3 separate regions of the Homo sapiens genome follow, and regions 2 and 3 are each linked to region 1. The links are contacts of gene promoters, found by promoter capture Hi-C in blood cells and fetal thymus (Javierre and others, 2016). All regions are on one chromosome and are shown on one strand. Each heading gives the region's core, a stretch centred on a gene start or on the middle of the fragment in contact. The rest is flanking DNA. Distances are from core to core; before and after follow the strand shown.

The links. The method cuts DNA at HindIII sites, captures the fragments that hold promoters and counts their contacts. A CHiCAGO score of 5 or more calls a contact.
Region 2: a fragment that was not itself captured here is called in contact with the fragment with the promoter of KCNK16 in region 1 in 2 of 17 cell types (naive CD4 T cells and activated CD4 T cells); the score reaches 5.4 in naive CD4 T cells.
Region 3: a contact is called between a fragment that was not itself captured here and the fragment with the promoter of KCNK16 in region 1, in 2 of 17 cell types (naive CD4 T cells and activated CD4 T cells). The highest score is 7.6, in naive CD4 T cells.

Annotation. Positions count from the first base shown.
Region 1 is chr6:39,321,375-39,324,074 of GRCh38, forward strand. It overlaps KCNK16 (potassium two pore domain channel subfamily K member 16), which reads right to left and starts at 1,328. Exons shown (of 5, transcript NM_001135106.2): 1 at 954-1,328. The coding sequence starts at 1,166. All of the region lies in intron 1 of LOC105375047 (a long non-coding RNA gene), which reads left to right. The HindIII fragment of the contact is 9,631 bases long and covers 1-2,700 here.
Region 2 is chr6:39,020,177-39,022,876 of GRCh38, forward strand. All of the region lies in intron 91 of DNAH8 (dynein axonemal heavy chain 8), which reads left to right. Among named protein-coding and RNA genes, the nearest start is that of GLP1R, 27 kb to the right of the region's middle. The HindIII fragment of the contact is 555 bases long and covers 989-1,543 here.
Region 3 is chr6:38,970,774-38,973,473 of GRCh38, forward strand. It overlaps DNAH8 (dynein axonemal heavy chain 8), which reads left to right. Exons shown (of 93, transcript NM_001206927.2): 83 at 819-892. Among named protein-coding and RNA genes, the nearest start is that of DNAH8-AS1, 19 kb to the left of the region's middle. The HindIII fragment of the contact is 446 bases long and covers 1,062-1,507 here.

The DNA.
Region 1 (2,700 bases), core at 78-2,577:
ATATTCTACCTCAGTTCCCATCTACAAAGTGGAGATAGGGATTGTAATAGGTAATTATGAGAAAACACCTGTAACACGCTCAGTGTCAGGTGATGAGTGGATCATGATTGGATTAAGCTGGTCATGACCACCCTGCTTCCCACTGTTTTAGGCACATTGTGAATGCTCAGTAAATGCCAGTTATCAAGGTGATTTGGCACTTGGTCTGTTCCTTTGCAGGGGATGTTGTCACTCGCTCCAGTGCCTATTTCAGATGCATTCACCTCCCTCCACAACACCTGGTTTTGTCTTGTTTCTGGGAAAGAGGAAACCAGAAAGGACCCAGGCAGGGGGTGACCCACTCTGTTACCAAGAGAGAGCCCCATTTGGGTGCAGTGCTGGCAAGCTCAGTCACCTTGGCCATTGCCCACCAAACCCAACTCCAGGTGCAAACAGGCCAGGAAAGGACAGCTTGGTGGTGGCTGCTCCTGGCATTTATCTGTGTCTCCCACCCGCAGCCGTCTGCCCAGGGATATGAGCTGGGAGAGGGCAGAAGGAGCTGCAGCCCTGGAGTTGGGGAAGGGGAAGTATGAAAGTGTGGGAGGAGGAAATTTGGATAGCGTTGATAACGCTGACATATAGTTCCCATTCATCCAGCAAGTGACAGCTTAGAGAGTGCTTTTAATCTGCTGTCAAATGTCTGCAGTACCGATATGGTTATTCTTGTTGCCTTATAGATGAGGCTGTTTGGGTCCAGAGAGGTTAAGTGACCTGTTCAAGGTCACACATCAATCCAGTTGTAGACCTGGGGCCAGAATCCAGGATTAGATCTCACCAGGCTCTCTGTTCCCACCACACTCTTCTTCCAAATGGGGCATCAGCTCCTGGGTGAGGACTGTGGATCTGCCACAGGAACCCCATTCCACCAACCTTCCCAAGCCTCTCCATCCCAATCCCACATCGCTCCCCTTCACCTGCACAAACTGCTCCATGGCCCACTGGTCCAGGCAGGTGTAGTTCTCCAGGAAGCGCAGCTTCTCCAACTGAAACTGGTCCCTGGACTGAGCCTCCGCCTGCCTCTCTAGCAGCTGGAAGATAGTGGCACCGAGCAGCAGGTAGCAGACATAGGCCAGCAGCAGGGGCAGCACCCGGCCACCCCAGCAGCTGCAGAGCCCAGCACTGGGCATGCTGTGGCCAGGACCCTGCCAGGGCCGTGGGGCTGGCTATGGGGGAGAGGTGGGAAACAGGTGAGGAGTAAGCACCTAGGGGCCTGTGCCCAGGCTGCCGCCTGCCCTGCCCTCCTCCTCGGCACAGGTGTCTGGAGGCTGGGGAGACTGTTTGAACAGTGCGGCTCAGCTTGGCTGCACTAAGTGCTATGCTGTGAGTGCAAACAGGCCGGCCACCCCCACCCGGCCTTTGTTTCCATGGACAGCAGCAAGTCAGTGTCAGGGACCCTTCAAAGAGACCTACCAGGTTCTCCTGAGTGCTTCATGTCTCTCTCTCTGTCTCCAAGTTGGATAGATGTTTCTGGGCTAAATCGGATAGGTGTGCTCACTCTGTCCAGGCCCCAGTGGGCTCTCTCGGCCGCCCCCAGCGTCTTCACCCTTGAAGGCTGTAAGACCCCAGCTTAGGAGCTGGGAAGAGGTCAGAATGGGTATGAATAAACCTTCTACTCAGTTGCCTTGGCTACAAAATGGGGCAGGATAATTGAACTGCCTATTGGGGGAACCTCAGGATGAGTAAACTGCGTGACAAATCAGGGCAAAGTAAATAGACAGGTGATTGTCTCACTCAGCCTGATGGTAAGAGTATCAGGGTTGATTCTGCTGATAAGTTGGATTCATTGGTTTTATAACTCTTGCTAATTTGTCTTGCATGAAGCCCTCTAGTGGGTTACCTTCAGAGGATATGTCGGTGAAATATATGTGTGAATTAAAAAGAAACTATAAGTATATCCTGATCCTGGGATGGTAAGAGGGGCTGTCTCTGAGTGGATGGAATTGAGAGTGCTTTCCTTTCTCTTTGCCTGTGTGTGTGTGTGTACACATGCTTGTTTATGTACATGTATAACAGCTTTATACAGATATAATTCACATGCTGTATCGTCCACACATTTAAAGTGTGCAATTCAGTGGGTTTTAGTATATTCACAGGGTCTTCAAGATCCAGCCCTGTTGCAACATGTAACAGTACTTCTTCCTTCTTTCTGGCTGAGTAATATTTCATTGTGTGGCTATAACACATTTGTTTATCCATTTGATTTCTAGTTGATGGACATTTGGGTTGTCCCTGTTTCCTTCTATTAAGAACAAAGCAGCTATGAACCTCTGTGTATGAGTTTTTTTTGTGGACATGTGTTTGCATTACTCACAGGTACATACCTAGGAGTAGAATTTCTGGACTATCTGGCCACTCTGTATTGAACTTTTTGAGGAACTGCCAGGCTATTTTCCAAAGTGGCTGAACCATTTTATATTCTCACTAGCCCAGGGCGAGGATTCCAATATCTCTGCTGTGTTTTCTGCTGTTTCCTTTAATGAGCTGTGGCTGCAGACACTGTGAGTTGCCTGCTGAGTATCCTTTCCCTCCTCCCCAGCTAGCAGAACCCCGGCTTTGTAAGTGTTAACCCCAGGTAATTGAGCATAATTGGTCTAAGTCATAGTGCTAATCTTGCTCCCCTCTGTCTCAGCCCCTGAGAGCAGTGAAGTCACTGAAGACCCA
Region 2 (2,700 bases), core at 16-2,515, 300 kb before region 1:
AAGTTTTACTGGAGCCAATTATGTCCTGGATTAGTCATTTCAGAGAAGGTGTGTGTCTCAAGGGGCCCTGGAAAGAGTCAGCTTGTACTAGTGACAGTCTTCTTAATATTGTGCCTGTACTCTTCCCACTTGTCAAACTTGTTCTTAAAACAACTGTGCATCAGTGACTGTCAATGACTTGTCTGCAGAGCTTTTTACGGGGCAGTGGTTCTCACACCTGCCTCCACAGTAAAATCACCCAGGGAGCTTTTAACACATACTACTGCCTGGGGCCCCAGAACAAGTATATCAGAATCTCTAGGGATGAGCCCTCTAGAATCCATACAATCAATTTTCTTTTCTTTTCTTTTTTATTTTACTTTAAGTTCCGGGATACATGTGCAGAACGTGCAGGTTTGTTACATAAGTATACATGTGTCATGGTGGTTTGCTGCACCTATCATCTAGGTTTTAAGCCCCGCATGCATCAGCTATTTGTCTTAATGCTCTCCTTCCCCTTCCCCCACCAATAGGCCTCAGTGTGTGTGTTCCCTTCCCTGTGTCCATGTGTTCTCATTGTTCAACTCTTACTTGTGAGTGAGAACACGCGGTGTTTGGTTTTCTATTCCTGTGTTAGTTTGCCGAGGATGATGGCTTCCAGCTTCATTCATGTCCCTGCAAAGGACATGATCTCATTCCTTTCTATGGCTGCATGGTATTCCATGGTGTATATGTACCACATTTACTTTATCCAGTCTATCATTGATGGACATTTGGGTTGGTTCCATGTCTTTGCTATTATAAGTAGTGCTGCAATAAACATATGTGTGCATGTGTCTTTATAGCAGAATGATTTGTATTTTTTTGGGTATATACCTAGTAATGGGATTGCTGGGTCAAATGGTATTTCTGGTTCTAGATCCTTGAGGAATTGCCACACTGTCTTTCACAATGGCTGCGGAGAAATAGGAATGCTGTCACACTGTTGGTGGCAATAAATTTTCTGAAAAGCTTCCTTGGTCATTCTAATGAGTGAAGAACCTTGACCTTGGACCTTTGCTACCCAGTATGTGGTCCACCAGCCAGCAGCGTCTGTATCACCTGGGAGCTTGATTGAAATGCAGAATTTCAGGCCCCACTCTTGATCTACCTACTGAATCAGAACATGCACTTTTAGTACATCCCCCTCCTCAGGTGATTCCCATGAACATTAAAGTCTGAGAATCCCTGCCTTAAAACAAATCTGGTGCCTGGGTTCCACCTCCAGAGATTCTGATTGTATTTATCTGAGCTGTGACTTGGGAATTGGGAGTTTTAGAAGATTCCTGGGTGTCTCTAATTTTCAGCAGTTTAATGTCCCTGCCTTACAGCAAAGAACCGGGGAAGGTGCTTGGTGCATTTTTATTCAACGGGGTTGACCAACCCTATCTTTGTTTAATGATTTCTGACCTTTGGTTTAATTTACCAATGAACTACATTTGCTTCTCATTTGGGGGAAAAACTGCCTGTCTTAAACTCGTGGCAGGAACATCATTTCTCCTCATCTTCAAAGATGCTGCTGGGAAGCTTAGTAACTGATTAGACAGGAAATACTGCACAGCCTAAGGCCTATTGCATAAGGACCAGTTCATTTATTAAAGAAAAGAAAATGTTGCTTATTTTTAGTGTAAATCATTACAAAATGCCAACCAACTCCTTATAAATTTGAGAAGAGCAATCTTCCTGATTAGTTATTTCTTTCACCTTTTCTAAGACCTTGTATGAAATGATATTTAAAGCACTCTTCAGCTTTCTTTAAGCCAGCTGATTGCACAAGTCAAACAACAGCCGTGAGTGTGTTGAACTGTTGGATTACTACTATTATAGGAATGGACACATAACAAGTGTTACTTTAGACCTGAGTTTCCAAAGTATAATCCTAGCTTAAAAGGGAATTTTTTAAAAGAAAGAAAACAGGAAACTGTATTGTATTGGGAGGAGGCTGGAGGGGAGATGAAAAAAATCATTTGGATTTTGTGTGTGTGGGTAAGTGGGGGGTAGCTGTCTATAACTTTCATTAAGTGTTTTTTTTTCTTCTCTTTATAAAGTAAGCTGCAGGCTTTGGGTTGGCAAACCCCAGGGGGATGCAGAAATCTGAGGCTGCTACCTTTTTATCTGCCTTCACGGTACTGTCCTCTTCCCCCAGCTCCTCCCTGACCCTATGGACCAGGCCTCAGACTTTCCAGCTAACTGCTTCCTGTGAGCCACTACTCTGATATCAGCCTATAACCAAAGGAGCTGGGGGGTCCAGGCTTGGTGACCAACCCTTCTCAGCCCACTCAATCAGGGTGCTTCCCACCTGCAGGCAGGAGGCAACACCCTGTCTGCTACCATCCTCCCCTTCCAGAGCCCACCTGCCTGCCCAGCCCTGCCCTGCCCTGCCCAGTCGAGCCATACCTTGCTTTGTCCCACCTGGGGGTGCCCTGCTCAGGGATGGGCTGGCAGGGCTGCACTCAGCTTCTCTGGTAAGCAGAGATTCAAGAAACCTCTGGGGTCTTGTTTTCTGGTCGTGTGATCCCAGGGGTGCACATGTTCCCCTTGGGTGTCTGAACAGAAGGGCCTGGGAGGGAGGGCCACACCCCTGCAGTCTTGCTGTGCTGGTGTAGTGGGCAGCTGCCTACCCCCATCCCACCCTGCACTGTGGGCTCCAGAATCGGCAGATTAAGCATTTTATAAATTGTA
Region 3 (2,700 bases), core at 35-2,534, 350 kb before region 1:
AGAAAATTTGGGTCCACAAGGGCTTGCTTAAGAGTTAATTTCCAATTGCAGTTGTGCAAACATGATTCTCAGACTTCTTCATTTTAGCTAATTCATGTGGGAGGTCACAAGCATGGTTCTCTGCCTGGGACATCTGGTCCTAAATGGTGTATTATCTCTGGAATTATGACATTTCTCATCGTGGAGTGTTTTCATGTTTAGTTCCAAGGTGGTGATTTAATCTGAGGAGCAGCTGAGAACTAGGTCTTAGACAGTTGCCCCTGAATGTACCCGTCACAGGGCTGAACTGTCTCAAATTTCATCTCAGAAAAATGATCAAACATACAAAGAAAACCAAAACAAGCAGACAGAAAACACTGTGAGCCTGATATCTAAAAGGAATAAACAGAAAATTAAATCTTTACAGAAGCGTCTGCTAAAACGCCGAAAAGGATTCTAACCAAAACTTACAGCAAAACTAAAAAATCCTTTTTCCCTACAAATACCTGTGATAGCATTGTAGTTGCCTCTCCCACCATTGATCTTGTTCCTCATTGTCTCCAAAGAATCTCAAACTCTCTAAAAGCCCACCATACGTGCCTTTTTCTCTCCCTTCCTGACCCCCAACCCACGCTTTTCCGGGTGGTGCCTCCAGGTCTCTGCTCCATGCATTTCTCTGATCCACACAACCAAAGGCCAGGCCTGTTTGAACAGCAAAGATTTTTTTTTTTTTTTAGAAACAATAGAAGGAGGCTATAATCATTCAGAAATTAATTTTTCATTCTAATCCTGCTGTAAGAGTTGTGTTTCATCATAGTGAACTTTCTCCTATGTTACAGAATGTAGAACTATCTCAATGGGGCAAGGACAAGAAGTACATGCTCGAAAGCTGATTCAGATGTCAATGCAGCAGGTATGTGACAAGAGACTGCTCCTGCTGCAACATTATTGCTAGAAACCCCACAATCATGGATGTTACCACATTCTTCTCGTGATGCTCAATCCTGGTTTTTCCATTTTTGTTTATCATTACCTGTGAATTTTAAACCTCAGTCTAGTTTCCTCCTGATATTCGCATGGAAAGCTTATTCCATTTTCTATAGTATATGCTCCATTTTACCTTCACCAATTTTTTGTTCGTTTTATGATTTGGGAGACACACCTTCTGATTTCTAAGAATGCATCTCTAGCAGTCTTGGAATTTCATGATCAATATGAATAGGTAGTACTTAAGGAGTGACAGATTGAGACAGTTAAATTTCCATTTTCAGTTAAAGGCAGACTTTCATTTTTCATTAACGGATCATTTCAGGCAAAGAAGGAATATTTAAGGATGCTATGTTTAAATACTGATAATGGTTTTCACTAATAATTGCAAGCTGAATGGAGTGTTGAGAGAGATTTCCCATCACACCTAATAAATACACAGGACATTAATTTTCTAGAAATGCTCTGTAGATAGCCATTTCAGCTGTAATAAGAAATTATACCATTTATAAAAATAAAATAAGATATTGGTTTATTTTTAAGCTTTTGATCTCAGAATGTCTGTACAAACTTTGGTGCAGCTTTTCCCTGGGAATTAATGACTAGAGAGGGTTAATGGGCTAAAACTCTGTTGGGTCATCAACTTTTCCAGCTAGTCATTAATTCTCAAATGCCCTAAGCCTCAATCTTTATCACTTAATTAAATTCAATAATTTATTTAATTTATACATGTATATCTCAAAGCAATTATACATAATTATTTTTACTCGGATCAAATGTTTCACTCTATTGAGTGATTTGACAGTTTAACTTTGGGCCTTAAATAATTTCTTTAGTTTCTGTGGGTGCAAAACTTTAATTTAAATACGGTGTTCATGTTAACTGTCTTTGGAATACTAGCCTTTATAACTTCCATGGTCTGTTTGTCAAAGTGGGGTAAGTATTGATTATATGGCATAATCAGAAAAGAAAACCAGACATGAGCAGGTGCAGCCATGTTGCCGCCTTGAGGGACACCATGTTTAGCATAAAGCTGGCATTGTGGAACACAGAGTGGGGAACCAGAAAGTAAGTGGGTCCATGATGACACAAACTAATCCTGAATGCTGTTTTCCTCTGAAACCCCAGTTGTATAGACGGCACATCCCCTTTACTAGTTAAGCCGGTGTGAGTTGTATTTTCGCTTACAGTTGAGACATGGTATATATGCCTTGCCATATATTTATCATGCTCACTATTTTGTAGTTTTATGTAGTTCAAGATAGCTGATTCCTGTATAAAGGTATTAAAATGTCTAGTAAAGAAACTATGTTCTCACAGGGCAGTGATGGTTTTGTGACATATTGTTTAAGGTAGTTTGTTTAATCAAGTATTTATTTAGAAAGTGCTTAATAAGTTATGTGGTTTCAGGAAAGTGTGGAGAGTGATGATAAAGAATAAAGCTTAGCATTATGGTAGTAAATGTCACCAAACGTATTGTCTCCAGCTTTCATGAGATCATGTGTATCTTTCTTTGTAACTATGAATAACTGTGAACCAGTCTTCTGGGTTTTGGGGGTGAGTCAGTTCTGATTTACCTTAGGCAGGACAACTTGTTACTGATTCCAAAATACCCGTTCCCACCATTAGATGGTGCACACACTGTACTTACACAAGTCTGCCTTCAAGTTTTAATTTCTGTTCCTTTCTGAACCAGGGGTGGCAGAATACAATCATTTTGAACCCACTTGATTC